Regions from separate parts of the Homo sapiens genome. Here region 2 is linked to region 1. Evidence: promoter capture Hi-C in 16 types of primary human blood cells and fetal thymus (Javierre and others, 2016). All regions are on one chromosome and are shown on one strand. The core of a region is centred on a gene start or on the middle of the fragment in contact, and the rest is flanking DNA. Distances in the headings are between cores, read along the strand shown. Region 1 holds the start of LRP2BP (LRP2 binding protein). Region 2 overlaps CDKN2AIP (CDKN2A interacting protein).

Evidence for each region. Contacts are between HindIII fragments. The CHiCAGO score rates a contact against its expected background, and 5 or more counts as called.
Region 2: a contact is called between a fragment that was not itself captured here and the fragment with the promoter of LRP2BP in region 1, in 2 of 17 cell types (fetal thymus and naive CD4 T cells). The highest score is 9.7, in fetal thymus.

The regions. Positions count from the first base shown.
Region 1 is chr4:185,394,174-185,397,619 of GRCh38, forward strand. It overlaps LRP2BP (LRP2 binding protein), which reads right to left and starts at 1,751. Exons shown (of 9, transcript NM_001377440.1): 1 at 606-1,751. It overlaps ANKRD37 (ankyrin repeat domain 37), which reads left to right and starts at 2,668. Exons shown (of 5, transcript NM_181726.4): 1 at 2,668-2,777; 2 at 2,977-3,129. The coding sequence starts at 2,751. RefSeq lists silencers at 1,874-2,063, 2,284-2,653 and an enhancer at 2,184-2,253. The HindIII fragment of the contact is 1,591 bases long and covers 1,233-2,823 here.
Region 2 is chr4:183,448,504-183,451,949 of GRCh38, forward strand. It overlaps CDKN2AIP (CDKN2A interacting protein), which reads left to right. Exons shown (of 3, transcript NM_017632.4): 3 at 1-561. Among named protein-coding and RNA genes, the nearest start is that of CDKN2AIP, 5.6 kb to the left of the region's middle. The HindIII fragment of the contact is 4,907 bases long and covers 1-3,446 here.

The DNA of each region.
Region 1 (3,446 bases), core at 501-3,000:
CTTGAACCCGGGAAGACGGAGGTTGCAGTGAGCTGAGATCACGCCACTGCATTCCAATCTGGGCAAGACAGCGAGATTGTGTTTCAGAGTTAAAAAAAAAAAAAAAAAAAAAGGCCTTTGGTTTGCATTAAAGAAACCAATCTTAGCCTGAATTGACCAGAGGTGACCAAAATTATTTAAAACACATAGGTATAAGAATGTGGGCTCTGGAGTCAAACTGACTTCAAATTCCTGATTTACCTGCTAATAATTACATGACAAGTTAATGGATCTCCCTAAGCCTCAATTTCCTCTTCTGTAAAATGCAGATAATACCTATGAGCGTTAGTCTTGAGGCACAAGTGCTCAATTAATGTCAATTTGTAATATAATAAACTGGAATAGACGTTAGTGGTTAATACTTTCTCATTTGTCGGCCTTTCTCTATTTCACATCACAGCTGCATGTGTATCACACACTGCCCCCAGACTGAACTACATATAGTGCTCTCAATACTGGAAGATATTTTACACTTCTTAGAAATACTCTTCCCTTCCTGGACTCCTTAGCAAACTCTTACTACTCAAGATTCAGCCCACACATCTCTCATCTATTCGGTCACTTACTCATCATCCAACGTTTTTTTTAACACTCGCTGTAAATGGCATCCTCGTTCTGGAAACGCATCTACCAGCAATTAAAACATGTAGAATTAGCACTGCTTAGGAGAACGCCTATAAAATATGCATCTTAGATCATCTTCCGTTTTAGAAAATTGATCCCACCTGCTACACGCCTGGTGAAACTCCAGTTACTTGCCAGTAAGATATTGTCCCCCAAATGTACTTATCCTGTTTTTGTGCATTATAAGCTTTGTTCAGTTTATAGTTTCTAGGCCCATTACTAAAGTCAAGTCAGATATCCAGCTGAGATACAACTTTTTTTTCTGAAAACAATGTGAGCAATGGACAGGTACGCTGTGATTAAAGGGAGAAAAGCTGTAACGACTCCCCAAATTTCCTTTCCTTATGAAATTTACGTATGTAACAGGAAGTTAAAAAATAACTACCACTTAATGCATACTGAACAGAATCTTGTTTCAAAGAAAAGATATGAAATATGGAGGCACTTTCACCACACAAATATCCCACTACATATGCTAACTGCAGTATTTATGTTCAAAACTGTAAGAACGTGTCTGATACCCTTTATTAGTTAGGAATTCCTGAAAATGAACTTCTGTGCAAACCTGAAGCTTCAACACGTGTTTTAAAAAGCAGTGCTTATTGAATTGATAAACAAAAGCGAAACTGGCAATATCAACGTGTGCTCACCTCACAAATCTGACAACAGTATCTCTACACTGCCGTTCTTTAAACATCATTAAAAGATATTGTGAATAGTTTAAATATTAAAAATGTGGAATATAAGAACGATTCTATATATTTGAACACACATTTATATTCAAATATTCATATGAATAAAAATGCTTAAAACTACCCCTTGGGTAACTAAGTATAACAACATAAACTTGCGATTGCAAATTTTATGGCTCTTACTACAAAACAAAAAGTAGAATGAAAAGACCACTTATCTTTAGAGGACAAGCATGAACTTGTTTTCTAACAGCATAACAATAAACGTATTTATTTCTCCGAGCTTTCAAAGGCATCAACAGAAGGGAATCACTAAAAATGTAGGGGAAAAGAAACACTCGGCTGGAGCTTTGGTTTCTAAGCAGATCCTTCTGGAAAGACGCTTAGGGAGAGTCTAGGGAGCAGCTCTGACGTCAGTAGCTGCCATCGGAAGTCAGGTCATGTTCTACAAAAAGCAGTGACGCACGCCCGACAGCACCCGCGGGGCCGGACAGCGGCTTCACCAGCCCCGCGGGTCCGAATCGCACGCGGCCGGGTCCGCTCTCCCGGGAGGAGAGCCCGGCGTGGACCAGCGTGACGACCCCAGCGTGCTGCGGCCTCTCCCCGAGGGCCCCTCCACAAGGGTCCCTGCGCGGGCCGGGCTCGGCCGTTGCCACTCGGGACAGCCATCCCCTCGAGTTCGCGCTCGCCGTCCCCGCCTTCACCTCCCGGGTTGGGAGGCGGGCGACTGCGCGCGAGGTAAAGGAACTTGCGTTCCCCGGCGCCGAGGCGGCAGCAGCGCAGTGCACAGCGGCTTCTGAAGGCGGCGTCGACGGGGAGCTGCGCGTGGCTCCCAGTTTCCTGGTTACGTGCGCGCCGGCAGAGCCAAAACCTGCAGCCGAAACTCCCGCTTCTCCGTAAGGATTAAAGGGCGGGCGCACTACCGGGAGACGTGTCAAACTCAGCGCGCCTCATGGCGGCCGCGGAGCCCCACCCGCTCCTACTCCAGTCCTCTCACGCCCACTGACTTACCCTGCGCACGCGCGCTGAGGCTCCGTGGGGCCGCCGCGGGCCCCGCCCCGAGGTGGGAGGGCCTGACGCATCCACAGCTGGCCAATCGGCGGATGGCCTCGCGCGCCCGCCCCCTCCCCCTGCCCCCGGCGCCGGGCTCCACGTGCCAGTGTTTGTGTACGTGCGGCCGTGGCGGGGCTGGACAGGGTCCGGGTCGTTGAGGATTAGGCTGCTCGGGCGTAACCGGAGCTGGGGCGCGGCTGCCAAGGGCCGGCCCGGAAGTCCCAGCGGTCTTTAAATTCTCCCGTGCTAGGGCCAGCCTGCGCATTCTTACCTGTCGGGGTGCGGCGAGTGTCTCACCTCTCTGCACTTCCAAGGACTCTTGTCATCTGCCTTAGGCGGGAAATGCTGTTGCTGGATTGCAACCCCGAGGTGAGATTCGGGCTCACAGAGCCCGAGCTTTTGTCCTGCAGGCTCAAGCTTCTAGATTCGTCTTCTCGTTAATGCGGGGACGGACCACTGGGCGCTGCCTGGTCAGAGCTGGTTGTGAAGGGCGGGGAGGTTTCCAGCCCGGAGGGGCGCGGGACTGGACAAAGGTGGGAAGGGTGCTGGATCTGTTCTCTTCCTGCAGGTGGATGGTCTGAAGCATTTGCTGGAGACAGGGGCCTCGGTCAACGCACCCCCGGATCCCTGCAAGCAGTCGCCTGTCCACTTAGCCGCAGGAAGCGGCCTTGCTTGCTTTCTTCTCTGGCAGCTGCAAACGGGCGCTGACCTCAACCAGCAGGTAACTAGGTAACTGTTGCTGTGTACAGCCGTCCCCTCCAACCCAGACACACACAAACATTTCTCAGACGCCAAGAGTTGTTTCAGCTGTTAAAAACATGTCTATAGCAGCGATGTCCAACAGAAATATAATGCAAGACACAGATGTAATTTAAGAGTTTTTTTCCAGTCTTGATGTGAGGACATGAGAAATTTGAAGTTTTTAAGTAGCCACATTAATAAACGAAACATGAAATTTTAGTATTTGACCCAATTTGTCCAAAATGTTATCAGTTCAATATGTAATCAAAGCAATTGCTGATTAGATATTTTACACTT
Region 2 (3,446 bases), core at 549-3,048, 1.9 Mb before region 1:
TTCGTCTTAGGTGATTCTGCCTGTTTGTCTGTCATTGTATATTCTGTTTACTTTGCTTCAAACTGGCCCCAAGATGTTATTTTTGTGGTTTCTGGCTTTCTAGATTCTATTTTTAGATACTGCCCATTGAGCAATAATGGTGATAATATAGAGAGAAAAGAAAGACCTTTCATGGGCCAGTTGTGTTGGAATAGGAAAATCAAACGTAAGCACAATTTAAGTATGTAGCAGTTATTCCTATTTTGTATTCTAGGAATAAAAAGATACTTTAATTTTTTATGCTAGAATTACATAATTACATAATCAGATGTTTTAATTTTACCATATAACCTTTAAAAATGATTCATTTTTGAGGATATTTAATTGGATACCAAAGCTAAAATCCATATACTGTAAGTGGGTTGCCTTTATAGATTGCGGGACACAATAACATGAATGTATTGTGAAAGCACTTTTAGTTACCTCACTTTCCTCAGTCTTGGAATGTGTATTTTGTGGGATAATGATTATCAGAAAAGCAAAAAATTACAACGAACAAATAAATTTATATAATATATCCAATTAGGTGGTTTGGTAATTTCCTAAATTGGCTTGTTTCAAGTTACTATGAAGGTTATTGAGAATGTTTTATAGTGACTTTTGATGTGGAGGAAGTTGTTTAGTGTACATTTATGATAATCCTATTTAAAAACCTAGAAAAATGCTCTTGGTTAATAACATTTAAAGAATCCTGGTTTAAGAGAAATGCATATTTTAGAATTCTATTATTGAGAGTGAATCTTGGCTGTCTCTTACTAGACATGTAACCTCTGGGAATTTAACCTTTTAACCTTACTTCGTCTGTGAAATAGGACTAATAGCTGTCTCATAGAGCATGGCAGTTAGATGAGATGATACATTCAAAGTGCCCGGCATGGTGCAGATATCCCATGGTTCACTTATATATTCTTATTCCTCTTACAAGGAGCTCTTCTCATTTGGCCTACTTTTCAGATGGAGAAACTTACACAGAGTAATTCGGTCAGATAATTCAAGCCCATATCTGATTTCAAAACCCAAGCTCAAGTATGTTGTACTGCTTATTATCCTTGTCACTTCTCTATATGCTGAAATTTCTGAAAATCCCTCCCAGAACGTGATTTTTTACCAGATTAAGTGACCGCATCTTTCTAAAGCCTCCTTGAAATGAGTCACTTCAGAGGCTCTTCTATTATTAATGCTTCTAATACTTGCATATCTTGAATATCCTCAACTAGTGAATCATCCCATATGGATGCAGTTGAACTTTGTAAAAAGACCATACACACACAAAAGAAATCTGCACAAAAAACCCCCCAAAACCAAAAAACCAAACACACCTGCCTAAAATAGTGTATAATCAAGTTGAGTGAATAAAGTCGGCTACCAAGATGGGATATACTGCTTTTTTCAGATGAGTGAGGGGAGACGATTTCCTGAGACATCAAGATTTTTCTTGATGTTAGAATGAGATTTTTTTTTTAATGGTAAAATTAGTTGACTTGTAAGAATGATACTGTCATGAGTTTTTGACCTAAATTCTTGGAGCCTGTCACTGCTGTCATTGGCTAGGATAATTGTCATAGGGATATGTGTAACTTTAAGGCCTTTGATATGTATTATCAGGAGCCTGCTCCAATTTGAATTATGTTTTCCCTGCCAAGTGCAGCTTTTCTTGGTACAAATTTCTACTTGCTGTTTAGATTTTTGAGTAACAGCAGTGAGAAAGTAACAAAAACAAGCCGCAATTGGGAATCAGGTCAGTCCTACAGGTATTGTGTTACTACTTTGTGGACTTTGTCCTCAAAAATTGTGCTGAAGTCCTATATTGACCTACTTTCTAGACATTGGTTATCCATTCCTGCATGATTTTTAAATAATATTTTCTGTGATTGATGAATAAACTATTTCACTTTCTACTAGAACAAAATGTTCAAGTTGAATGAAGGGTTAAGCCATTTATTGCCCAACTATTCCTCCCCAAGAAAAATATCAATCATATTTCTTTGGCATCCCTGCACACAGCTTAGTTGCCATCCAGTTAGAACCATTTCTTACTACCAACTTTAATTTTAATATCTCTCGATTTTCCTCCTTTTGTTTTTGTTTTGTTTTTTTGTTTGTTTTTTTTTTGAGACAGAGGGAGTCTTGCTCTGTCACCCAGGCTGGAGTGCAGTGGCGTGATCTCGGCTCACTGCAACCTCGGCCTCTTGGGGTCAAGCAATTCTCCTGCCTCAGCCTCCTGAGTAGCTGGGATTACAGGCGTGCATCACTACACCCAGCTAATTTTTTTGTATTTTTAGTAGAGACGGGGTTTCACCATGTTGGTCAGGTTGGTCTCGAACTCCTGATCTTGTGATCCACCTGCCTCAGCCTCCCAAATTGCTGGGATTACAGGCGTGAGCCACTGTGCCCAGCCGATTTTTCTCCTTTAAAAGTCATTATCTGAAAATTATTAGTTTTTAAAGTTCTTTTTCTGTTCCTTTGCTATTCATCTAGCAAGAAAAAGAGTAGACAAGGCCCCAAACTAAATGGACTTTTAACTTTGAAGGGAAAAAAGAAAAGTAATGCTAGGTTGGGCATGGTGGCCCACAACTGTAATGCCAGCACTTTGGGAGGCCAAGGCAGGCGGATCACCTGAAGTCAGGAGTTTGAGACCAGCCTGGCCAAAATGGTGAAACTTTATCTTATAAAACTACAACATTAGCTGGGCGTGGTGGTGCGTGCCTGTCACCCCAGCTACTTGGGAGGCTGAGATAGGAGAATCGCTTGAACCTGGGAGGTGGAGGTTGCAGTGAGCTATGATTGTGCCACTGCACTCCAGCCTGGGTGACAGAGTGAGACTCCGTGTCAAAAAAAAAAAAAAAGTAATACTAAACACAAAGGGTTGGATACAGGACATTTTGAGTAAAAACTAGAGATTACATATGCCAGTACTTAAGAAGCAATCAGAAATACTTTGTGAATTTGAAACTTTATTGAATAGAATCAGAATCCTTGGAGGTCTTAGGAAGCAACCAAACTAAACAATATAAGTAGTAAATACACTAAAGACTACCATTTTACTGAAGTGGGACTATCATGTGCAATGTATATAACTTGGAAGCTAGAGACAAATGTACAAAAAGGTGATTTGGGAGGGAATCATCTAGTGATTTCCTTATACTGTTTTCAGTGTACCAGGGCTTAGACACTTAAAAATGATAAAACCCAAGTTCTGAATATGTCATCAGTGGTTTTCAAACTTTAGCCATATTTCTTCAAAGAAAAATGGGGGCATTGTGTATGTAAAACAGAGAACTACTTTGGTCAAAGGAGGGTGGCCACACCCTACAACTGAATTATACGTTTGGTTCTTAATTTCTTTTTCTTTTTTTTTTTGAGACAGATCTGGTTATGTTGCCCAGGCTGGAGTGCAGCGGTTCACT